3 separate regions of the Homo sapiens genome follow, and regions 2 and 3 are each linked to region 1. The links are contacts of gene promoters, found by promoter capture Hi-C in blood cells and fetal thymus (Javierre and others, 2016). All regions are on one chromosome and are shown on one strand. The core of a region is centred on a gene start or on the middle of the fragment in contact, and the rest is flanking DNA. Distances in the headings are between cores, read along the strand shown. Region 1 holds the start of UTP14C (UTP14C small subunit processome component). Region 2 overlaps CKAP2 (cytoskeleton associated protein 2). Region 3 overlaps VPS36 (vacuolar protein sorting 36 homolog).

What was found. The method cuts DNA at HindIII sites, captures the fragments that hold promoters and counts their contacts. A CHiCAGO score of 5 or more calls a contact.
Region 2: a contact is called between a fragment that was not itself captured here and the fragment with the promoter of UTP14C in region 1, in 1 of 17 cell types (neutrophils). The highest score is 6.9, in neutrophils.
Region 3: a contact is called between a fragment that was not itself captured here and the fragment with the promoter of UTP14C in region 1, in 1 of 17 cell types (neutrophils). The highest score is 5.7, in neutrophils.

Annotation. Positions count from the first base shown.
Region 1 is chr13:52,022,637-52,026,423 of GRCh38, reverse strand. UTP14C (UTP14C small subunit processome component) reads right to left here and starts at 1,733. Exons shown (of 2, transcript NM_021645.6): 1 at 1,487-1,733. It overlaps ALG11 (ALG11 alpha-1,2-mannosyltransferase), which reads right to left. Exons shown (of 4, transcript NM_001004127.3): 3 at 1,487-2,418. The HindIII fragment of the contact is 12,744 bases long and covers 24-3,787 here.
Region 2 is chr13:52,473,479-52,477,265 of GRCh38, reverse strand. CKAP2 (cytoskeleton associated protein 2) reads right to left here. Exons shown (of 9, transcript NM_018204.5): 8 at 3,182-3,437; 9 at 639-2,371. The coding sequence ends at 2,125. Among named protein-coding and RNA genes, the nearest start is that of CKAP2, 20 kb to the right of the region's middle. The HindIII fragment of the contact is 2,816 bases long and covers 651-3,466 here.
Region 3 is chr13:52,430,817-52,434,603 of GRCh38, reverse strand. It overlaps VPS36 (vacuolar protein sorting 36 homolog), which reads left to right. Exons shown (of 14, transcript NM_016075.4): 6 at 856-942. Among named protein-coding and RNA genes, the nearest start is that of VPS36, 18 kb to the left of the region's middle. The HindIII fragment of the contact is 7,600 bases long and covers 1-3,787 here.

The sequences.
Region 1 (3,787 bases), core at 484-2,983:
TGGACTGGAGAAATCAGAAAGCTTTTACGTGCAATACTTAAAATCCTGCTATTTTTTTCCACTGGCTTAACCTGGCCTATATCACCTCTCTGTTGTCTTCCTGCTGAATGTTCCTATTGATGCATCTGTTGTCACTCCTGTCACAGTGCTGTTCCCTCTGCTGGAGACTCTCCCCTCTCTCCTGGCTAACCTCTATTGTTCGGGTCCTGCTCAAGTGTCACATCATTTCCTTGGGCAACTGTTCCCTGCCCGCACAAGTCTGTGTTAGGTTTCTCTTTGGCGCTTTCACATCACCCTGCACTTCCTTAGCATAGCACCTGGCACACGGCACAGCACGGCACGGCACTTGCCTGTGTAGCCTGTTGGTACCACCAGAGGGTGGGAAGCCTCTGACAGGCCAAGCAGCTCCTGTCTCCACCACATCCCTAGCATCCACCCAAGCGCTCAGCAGAGTGAATGCTTAGTAAGTTTCTATGGAAGGAAGCACAGGAGGTCAGATCCCATGCAACAGGTTGGGTCAACAAGTTCTTGCTTAATGTCTGGGCCTAGCACTACACTACTAACTAGGAGTAAAAAGAGTATAAGAGAAATTGAAGTCTTAGTTTAGGAAATGTCACTTTTATGTTATCCTCATTTCCCCTAACAACTAACAGTGTGAGGCACAAAGCGCTTGAGAAATATATGTGGACCCAAATTAAACACAAAGCAGTACTTGATTTTATAGCAAAATGTGTGCTTAACAGGTCAGAATAGAGATAGCAGTTTGTGCCAGAATAAACAAGAAAGGCTAAAGTGCAAGGAGATTTAAGTTGAAGACTTATGATGCAATCTGGCACAAAGAGGAGAGCCATTCCAATGGTGAGGGTAGAATCAATAAAAGACTAAAAGAGTTACTGTGAGAAGCCCCTATGCAAACAGTGGTTCTCAACTTTTGATGCATAACAGAATCACTTAAGCAGCATTATCAAAATACATCTACCTGGGCCTTGTCCAGAGATTCTCATTTGGCCATTCTGTAGGATTAGGGTAGGGCCCAGGAATCTGTACCAGTAAGTATGTAGTGGGGTTAGATGGAGAGAGAAAATGTTGCTGTTAAGAGCAGGGGCTATCTGGGTTAGAATCCGGGCTCTACCACTTACTGTGTAACTGAACTCGAGCAATTTCTAAACCTTCCTGTGCCTGAGTTTCTTTATTTATAAAATGGGAATAACAATAACACCTATCAAACGGGTTTAGAAAGGCTTAAATTAGATAATACATGTAAAAATCTCAACACAGTGGCCCACACACAGGAATTGGTCAATAAATACTAGCTGCTATTATTAACTACTATCTTACAAGGTCTCAAGTGAGGAAAGCACATTTGGTGGATGAGGGCAAGAGAATTAGGGCATGATGCAGATTTCCAGAGTATTATCATTTTATCAAAAGAACTTAAAATGTGTATCTCATGGCACCAAACAAGTTGTTTAAAGGCCAAACTCACCAATCCCAAAATGCTCGTTCCACATGGTATGCAGACCAATTGTTGCTTCAGACAAATAATTCTTTAATTCATCAAATGGAATGTTTATTTTAAATTCCACATATTCTTGAACTCCTAAATCCTCAGACAGCCTTCTCAGTTGGTTTACCCTAAGTTCATCATCTTTGTTACGACAACCTCCAATGAGGACAAGTTTAAGCGAAGGAGGTGACTCAACCATCTTCTTATTCAGCAATTTAGCAAAGGCTCTGATCTGCAATGGATGATTCTTTTCCGGCCTAAACTGGCCAACAGAAACCAGCAAATGTCCTGGGGTCATCTTTTTCTCATGTAAGGGAATGTCCAGAAATGTCTGCACATCACAAGGTGGATAAACAATGTTAGTGCAATTCCCAACTTTCCATAGTGAGAGAATATGGTTTAGTGTCCAAGAAGAATTGACCATGACTACATCACTGCAAGAACCAACAAGTCCATAAATAAAAGCAAATAAATAGTAGTAGATGAGCTTTACTTTGCTGAGAAAAGGATTCCTGGTAATGAAGGCTGCATTATTAAATCCAATATTTTGATTCTTCACTACAGAGAGCATGTCGGTGCTGATAGTAGGATAATGAACATAGCTTCCAACTTGGCAACCCCCTATATACTTAAACAGAGGAAGCGTAAAAGCGTATCCCATTGAATCAATGTAAACATCAGGAACACACTGCATTAGAGCTTCCCAGCCAAGAAAAATGGATCCTAGACTTTGGCCCAGCAGTGTGAAGTGAGGATACAGTGAATCTTCCACAAGATAGCGTTTCCTTAAAAAAACAAACTGCACTGGGTGAATTAATCTGATGTTAAATCTTCTGAAAGCACCTTCTAGTATCTGTTGACCGTTGACATTAACATCGCCGGTATAAACAACATAAACTGCTTCAGGATACCTAAAATAGAATGTAATGGTTAAGAATATATTAAGTTACAAAAATTAGCCAGACACGGTGGCACGCACCTGTAATCCCAGCTACTCAGGAGGCTGAGGCAGGAGAATCGCTTGAACCCAGGAGGCGGAGGTTGCAGTGAGCCGTGATCATGCCACCGAACTCCAGCCTGGGTGACAGAGTGAGACTCCATCTCAAAAAAAAAAAAAAAAAAAAGCCTGCTACCTACCCTGAGAGACTGAGAGCCGAGACTGCATCACTGCACTCCTGCCTGGGCAACAAGTGTGAAACTCCGTCTCAAAAAAACAAAAACAAAAACAAAAAAAAGAATATATTAGGTTAAAATCAAGCAAAAAGTTGTAGATAACTATTTTCTTACAGTTATAAAGAAGATTTGATTTTTTTTTTTTTTTTGGAGACAGTTTCACTCTTGTTGCCCAGGCTGGAGTGCAATGGCGCCATCTTGGCTGACAATCTCTGCCTCCCGGGTTCAAGTGCTTCTCCCGCCTCAGCCTCCCGAGTAGCTGGAATTACAGACATGCACCACCACGCCCGGCTAATTTTGTATTTTTAGTAGAGTCAGGGTTTCTCCATGTTGGTCATACTAAAAATGATGTTTTCTACATTTTTTATTGAATTAGAAGTACAGTCCTTCAAATGAGACCATGACTTCTAGTTCTTTGCTATTTCCTCCACTGAGGGTTTCACACAGAACAGGCATCAACAGTAAGTGTTGATTTATGAATGAGATGGTCTAAAGAAATACTAAAAAGTTTTGACAGTGTTCTTAGTAAAAAAAATGGTAATAAAATACTATAAACAAGAATTAAGATTCAACAAACCTGTCTTCAGATAGGATCACAATACTAAAGCAATACTCAGGGTTTTTATCTGAAAAATGCAAGTCTTTAAAAGCTAGATCTTGTGCCTATATCACAATTAGATATAATTAGTATGAAAATATCTAAAAGTATATTCTTTAATGACTTGTAATACTTTGGTCTCCCTCTGTTTATAATTATTCTTTGAGTCATAAAACATTTATTGGCTGGGTGCAGTGGCTCACGCCTGTAATCCCAGCACTTTGGGAGGCCGAGGCGGGTGGATCACCTGAGGTCAGGAGTTCAAGACCAGCCTGACCAATATGTGTGGTGTGGTGGCACATGCCTGTAATCCCAGCTACTTGGGAGGCTGAGGCAGGAGAATTGCTTGAACCCAGTAGGCGGAGGTTGTGGTGAGCCAAGATCGCACCACTGCACTCCAGCCTGGGCAACAACAATGAAACTCCATCTGAAAAAAAAAAAAAAAAACAAATTTATTAAGCATCTAGTAATGAGATGCCAGGTTTTGGGGGTATGGAGATGAGAGAGAG
Region 2 (3,787 bases), core at 809-3,308, 450 kb before region 1:
GCCGGGTGCGGTGGCTCACGCCTGTAATCCCAGCACTTCGGGAGGCCGAGACGGACAAGAATGGTGGTTTAGAGTTCAGTCCTGTTTCCCCTTACCTGAGGTCCACTTGACAGTGGTTGGCATTTTTATCTGGTATGGATCTGGGTTTCCAAAAAATTCAGCGTCAAGATGTTCTTTCATTACTATAGGAAACGAAACATTTTTTTCCTTATTCCAGGATGTTCAATTTACTTTTTTGAGGCTAGCTAGGTAGCTACCTGGAATTTCCCTTGAAGAGACTCAAGATTTTTCCTTTATTACTATACACGGGAAGATCCAAGCGGGCCCTTAAGAGGGGTCCCTGTTATGTCTCTACTGGATGCTTATGCACGGTATCACATCATTTAGCTTGGAACAAACCTAGGGGAGAGATAACATAGCTGTCCTTAAGCACCAGAAAAGGGGTTAGACCTCTGGTTGAATGTTAGAACTAGGAATATTTAGAGACAGATTTTCCCCTCAGGTAAAGGAGGAAAAAAAACACTCTTAAAAACTTGTCCAAACATAAAAGTTGTATCTTGAGTTCTCTAACAGAGGCATTTCAAACTCTGCTATACAGACAAATGAATTATATGGTACAGATATTAAAAAGCTGAGAGTGTATCAAAGCTTAAATTTTATTTCAAAATGGCATATTTTGGGTCAAAGTATGAAAAAACAAGGGCATAGTTATGTTTTTGTTAAAGTGAAAAAAATTAGGTAAAGTTTATGTAAGTAGACTGATGACTTTTGAAAATATATCATTAAGCATGTACTTAAGTGTCAAAAACCTCAAGTCAAATCTTACAATGTATTTCAAAAGCAAAGCTAAAATTCATTCACTGTGGTTAAACTGCATTTCATAAAATATCTGTTGAAATAAACTTCATTAAAACATAATTACACAGATATTTTAATTGTATATATATCAGGTACACGGAATAAAAGTCCTACTCTCTAGAACATGAGAAGTCAATAAATAGAAAAGATATACAAAGTGGAATGAACATAAAAATGACTAAGCATGTGATCTTCACATTCATACAGTTTTTCAACTAATCTTTTACAATTAAAAAGTCATTTATTTGAAACTGTAGAGTTGATATATGCCATATTAGTTTGGAACCTTACAAAACAACTTTAGTGGTGTTATTTATGTGTGGAGAGAAAACTGTGTATGTAACTATCATGTTTCAAGGGACATGACTTAACAGTGAAGTTTTTTATGTTATAGGGAAGAAAACAAGTATTAGTATCAGTTATCTTAGAAATGCTATCTAAACTAGAATGACATTTGTTCAGTATGATATGTTCTTTCCCTAACTCCATTCTAATTGCTTAAAAACTATCAAGTGAAGTTACAAAAGTTAAACCACTAAATGTGGCATCTTTTCTTACACAAAGTATCTTCTCTTAGAAATGCGGTATTTAATTAAGTAAACCTTCTTGGTGACCCCAGTTATAATCAAAAGAGGCCACGAAACTACAGACTACTGACGAAAAGTGTCAGTGCAGACACTTTCCATCAATCAACAGGCAGTCCAAGGGACGCAAGAGAACACAAGTCTGGGTAACATGAATTTGGTAAGAAAGCAGGCTAAACCTCCTGTGTCTTAGTATTCGAAGTGAGTCATTCTATAGAATTTTTGACTAATCTGAGAAAGGCCAAAAAAAAGAAAAAAGTATTCTGTTTAAAGGCAGGGAGGTACATCATAACTTTTAAAAACATGTCAAGGCAAACATACATTTTACCTAGAATACCTCATTTTCTAATTATGCATCATTACTGTACTTATATTTAGTAAAGTGAACAGGGTAGTATTATAACCTGTTTATATTCAAGGAACATAGTAAACTAGCTGACAAAATTTACCTTTCTTAAAGAAAAAACTCAGTTGGTTGAAACTGACAAGGTAGGATTAGCTTTCCAATGTAGAGGACAACTCTTGCCATAACATGAATGTTAGTAAAGGAGCTCACTGCCGTGAATGCTTAGGATACATAGGTACATGGCCAACTCCAGACCTAAGAGCAATATAAAGCTACTCAAAACAAAACACCCCACAAATAATAAAAACCCCATTCCCTAACAGAGCTTTATTTCTCTTATGTTGTATCAGCCTCATAGTACACCCGGCACAGTGCTGCATTAGGGCGGCATACAAAAGCATCAGTTTCTCTTCCCAACTCCGTTAGCTGTTCCAATGAAGACACACAAGGATAATGATCTTTTAACATATCTGGCAATTTAGAAGTTTTCTCTTGAAGACGTCGAGAACGTCTCACTGGTGTTAAAAACTTCAGCTCTTTAAATGCGGAATTTGTTCCATCAAACTGCACCTTTTTTTTCACACTGAAAATTAAAACAATATTCCAGAGTTCAAAAACATGTTAACATTTTTACTCTGTACTTTCATGATATGTACCATACTATATAGCTTGTATGTTATAAGCAGGTAAAAGCATTTAATTGTCTTTTAGAGAGGTACTATAAGCTCACCGAAGTGAGAAACTTATCCTTTTCTCAATTTGTCATTACAACTTGTATACAGTAGATACCTGAGTATCTGTAGAACTGGCTAATTCCTGAAAGCCAAAACCTACTGTTATTAATAACACACAGATTAAAGTAAATTCAAATAAAAGTTTTCTTTTTCAAAATGGCAATAGTTAGGGAAAGTAAATACAGTATTTAAGAGGTGAAATGTTCTAATGACATTCTATTTGTTTAAAAACTTTTCTGTTTTCTTTTTTGTTTTGAGACAGGGTCTCGCTCTGTCATCCAGGCTGGAGGACAGTGGCATGATCTTGGCTCACTGCAACCTCTGCCTCCTGGGCTCAAGTGATCCTCTCACCTCAGCCTCCCAGGTAGCTGGGACTACAGGCACACAGCACCTTGCCCAGCCAAAATTTTTTTTATTTTTTGTAGAGATGGGGTTTTGCCATGTTGCCCAGGATAGTCTTGAACTCCTGGGCTCAAGTGATCTGTCTGCTTCGGCCTCCCAAAGTGCTGAAATTACAGGCGTGAGCCACCATGCCCGTACTGAAATTTCTATATTAATAAATGGTAGCTGTAATCTGAAGCTATCTCAAAGATTTTTAAATGCCGTTATTTATTATCTCCAAGCATGAAAACAAATCATGGTACATTTTAAAAGTTTACCTTTGCAAGTATGGCGTAGTAGACACATTATATTTAATTAAGCAACTTGTCCTCGTTTCTGTATTGGGGGTTTTAACATCATGGGTTGGATCTTTTGTTTTGTTGTCTTGCTCTTTTTCACAATCTTGAAATAGCAAATTTCTATGAAGTTTACTCTCCATTTCCAGTTTTTCTGGATCTACATCAACACCTGTATCTTCAATACTGACTTCTTTGACTTCTTCCTTGCTTGCACAAGACTTCTCCATATTTTCTCCTATAGAAAATACATTTATAGATTAAGCTTTTGGCTGAATTTTAAGAACAAAATCAGAAGACATTAAAGTTGTTCCTAGTTGGCCACATTTTCAAAATAAAAGAACACGATTGCCATCTCTGAACCATTCCTTTTCCTCAGCAAATACTGCTGCCAACTATATAACAAATACTATTATAAAATGAAATAAATGCTATATATGAAATAAGAACAAAGGATTATTAAAACCCACAAAAAGAAACAACTAACTTTGCCTGTGGTATAGGGAGATGGTTAGGGAATGCTTCACAAGCGAGATTTAGGCTGGGTCTTAAAAATGAGTACTTGATCAAGACCAAGGAAGACAACCT
Region 3 (3,787 bases), core at 586-3,085, 410 kb before region 1:
GGGTGGATCATGAGGTCAGGAGTTCAAGACCAGCCTGGCCAACATTGTGAAACCCTGTCTCTACTAAAAATACAAAAATTAGCCAGGCAGGTTGGTGCACGCCTGTAATCCCAGCTGCTCAGAAGGCTGAGGCAGGAGAGTCACCTGAACCCAGGAGGCGGAGGTTGCTGTGAGCCAAGATTGCACCATTGCACTTCAGCCTGGGCGACAGAGCAAGACTCCGTCTCAAAAAAAGAAAAAAAAAATTATTTTCACAGCACCTAATTTAGTGCTGTCTATACAGCAGACGCTTAGTAAACATAAATGACTGCTTACCAGCGTAATTCTTAGGGTGATAGAAGGTAGGGTTCACTCACTGCATTCTGTTCTTCATAATCAGTGTGACATTTGAGAGAATAGACAGTACAGCTGGGTAATGTTTTCCAGGCCTGTCTAAATTAATCACCAACACTAGACAGGTACTCAAATGTATGAAAGTAGCTTGAATAATAACTTAATTAAGAACCAAAATTTAAACTGTGATTTTTTTTGTACATTTGAGACCCTATTAAGTATCTGATACGTAATAGCTTGCCAAAGAAGGAAAATGATAGGAAATTTAACTTATCTCTAAAATGCAGAGTAAAATATGCCATTTATTGTATATTTGGTTTTTCCTGAATGATTTTAAGATCATTATGTACAGCAAGAAACAAACACATGTTTTGAAGGGAAGCTAAATGTCCGTGTATGCTGTTTTTCTTTGGTTCTTTGTAGGTCCTTTCCCGCCATTGAAAACACAATGTGGTTGGTTACAAAAGATTTTGTTTCCTTCCTATTTTGTATGTTTTATTTTCTACCTCTTTTTTTTTTCAGCCAGGAAGAATAAGGGCTGTAGGAATTGTAGGTATTGAAAGGAAACTGGAAGAAAAAAGAAAAGAAACTGACAAAAACATTTCTGAGGTAACTGTTAAATTCTGGCTCTCCATCTATTCCAGCCATTTGTGTCTATTCTTTTAGATACAGCTGTGCCTAATTCCCTTCTGTAATTTAGAATATATTTCATTTGCCTGAAGCTACATAGTCTCCTATTCTCTTTAACAGGTCTACCTCGGGCTGGCAAAATCTAACCAAAACCTTTTTCTAAAAGGAATAAAAAAGAAATGCAAATTTGTTTGCTGTTAGAAAACATCATAAAATGTTGTGTGTAGATTTTACAGTCTAGATGAAATTGATTGGCGGATACTCCTAATGAGTTCAGGGTTCTCTGTATAATTATTTTGGAAGTTGAAGTAACTTAGTTGAGAGAAAAATGCTATTCTGTGGCCAGTCTGTGGCCAGATACCACACCATTTTATGTTGATGACCACCCAGGGATCAGACCAGACATCAGTAAGAACGGCTCAAAGCAGCCCATCACTTCTACTGGGGGACAACCCTGAGCATGTACATTCCAGTGTTTCTGAGGCTTCATGATATATGAGGAAATTCAAGAGAAGGGGAAAGAACTCTAGCTAAAAAGACCAGTTATGCATTAGATTCTGTAATTAGTTAATACAGCTAAACATATCACTGGTTTTTCCATGTTTATATAAAAATGGTCTTGGTTTTTTATGAAATGATGCTTTAAAGTAAATCTTTGGTTTTTATAGTAATTCATAAGTAAAATTCTGTTGATGGTTGCTTTTCAGAGAATTTCAAAGATTTATGTCAATCAAGTAAAGTCTAAAACTACAAATAGTTATTTAAATACTTATTTTGGGCTCACTAATTGAAAATATAGATTACTGTTGGGGAACCAAGGGCATTTGACCTATTAAGTGCCCATAGTAGGTTTTTCTGGATATGTATCTGTGGTGAAGTTGTATATTTTCCTCAACCCTGTATTTTCCCCAAATTGGCAGCTGGATCCAGAATCTCTGTCACACTCATGTTCTGTCCGTTTGGCAAAACTAGAGGTGATGCTGTGTTCTTTCGTCAGAGGCACATCTTATCTCTGTCATGTTAGCAGCTGTTAATATTCAGTGCCTAGATCTATTAGTTCATTGGTGGTGGTAAATAGTGATAATTCTGTGTTTATTTTTCATTTATTAGTTGGAATACTTTTTAAAGAAATGTTTCCCTTATCTACTATTTGGTTGTCCAGTTCATATAGGAAAGGCAGGATAATTGCATTTTCCTTTATCATCAGGGTAATAAATTGTTTCCTTATTATCTTTTGACGATGACTAATTAGGTTTGTTTGTTTTTTTGTTTTGTTTTGTTTTGTTTTTTGAGACAGAGTCTTGCTCTGTCGCCCAGGCTGGAGTGCAGTGGCTCGATCCTGGCTCACTGCAAGCTCTGCCTCCCAGGTTCACGCCATTCTCCTGCCTCAGCCTCCCGAGTAGCTGGGCCTATAGGCGCCCGCCACCAAACCTGGCTAATTTTTTGTATTTTTAGTAGAGACGGGGTTTCACCATGTTAGACAGGATGGTCTTAATCTTCTGACCTCGTGATCCGCCGCCGCGGCCTCTCAAAGTGATGGGATTACAGGCATGTGCCACCGCGCCCAGCCAACTAATTAGGTTTTTTTTAACATGTCATTATGAATTCATGGAGTTTAGCATATTTGATGGATTTCAATCAGTTATAATTATTATCCTATTTGAAGCTCAAATTGTCCCATCTTTGGCCAGTGGGAGCTGCTTCAAGTTGGCCCTCTAAGTGCTTTTGTTGTGACTAGGTGAACTTTGCTAGCTTCTTCACTATCTGGTGTTGCAAAAGCTCCAGGACCATCTTGTACATTTCCTGCCTCAGATCCGGAATCAACCATTTATCTGAGAAACTCTGGTTTCTTTCTTTCTTTTTTTTTTTTTTTTTTTTGAGACAGAGTCTTACTCTGTCGCTTAGGCTGGAGTGCAGTGCCGCTATTTTGGCTCACTGCAACCTCTGCTTCCCGGATTCAAGCGATTCTCCTGCCTTAGCCTCCCGAGTAGCTGGGATTACAGGCGCGCACCACTGTGCCCAGCTAATTTTTGTATTTTTAGTAGAGACGGGGTTTCACCATGTTGGTCAGGCTGCTCTCGAACTCCTGACCTCGTGAACCGCCTGCCTCGGCCTCCCAAAGTGCTAGGATTACAGGCATGAGCCACCGCGCCCAGACCGCTCTGGTTTCTTTTAGTGGGAAATGATATTTCAGAACCACAATCTGCCTGCTAGTAATATTCATCAGTATTGGGTTGATCTTTGTTTCTAGGCTTTTTCAATGGACAGAGCTAGAATTTTGTTGTTGTTAATATAAAGTGCCTAACAAGAGCGTACTTATCTTTTCTATTCAAATTTAAGATGACACTACCAGATAATTACTAAAGCAGTTGAAAAAAAATTTTATGTGTTTTCCCCATTCTTTGTACATTTGAAAAATAGGTGCACTGTGTTTACGCTGTCTGAGCATACAGCCACTACATACACTCTCTGCCTCAGCTCCAGCTCTCATTGACTCTTAGTTTTATAAGTACCTCCATGTTTAGTACCACTAGTCCTTATGCTGAGCTCTCTGTGGTCGCTTTGGTTGTCTGAAGCCTCATTCTGTAGTAGATTTTTAAGGAAATGATCATAGGAACAATATTCCCTGTATCTGCCATGTTTGTCTTCCTTATACATGAAGGTCAGTTTTCTTGGATTTAAAATCCTCAGCTCACATTTTCTTTCTTTGAGTGCCTTCATTATATTACTTTCTTTCTTTTTTTTTTGGTCTGGCATGAAGTGTTGCTATCAAAGAGTGATGATAATTTTATTTTTTCCCCTTAAAAGACACTTGCTGTTTTTC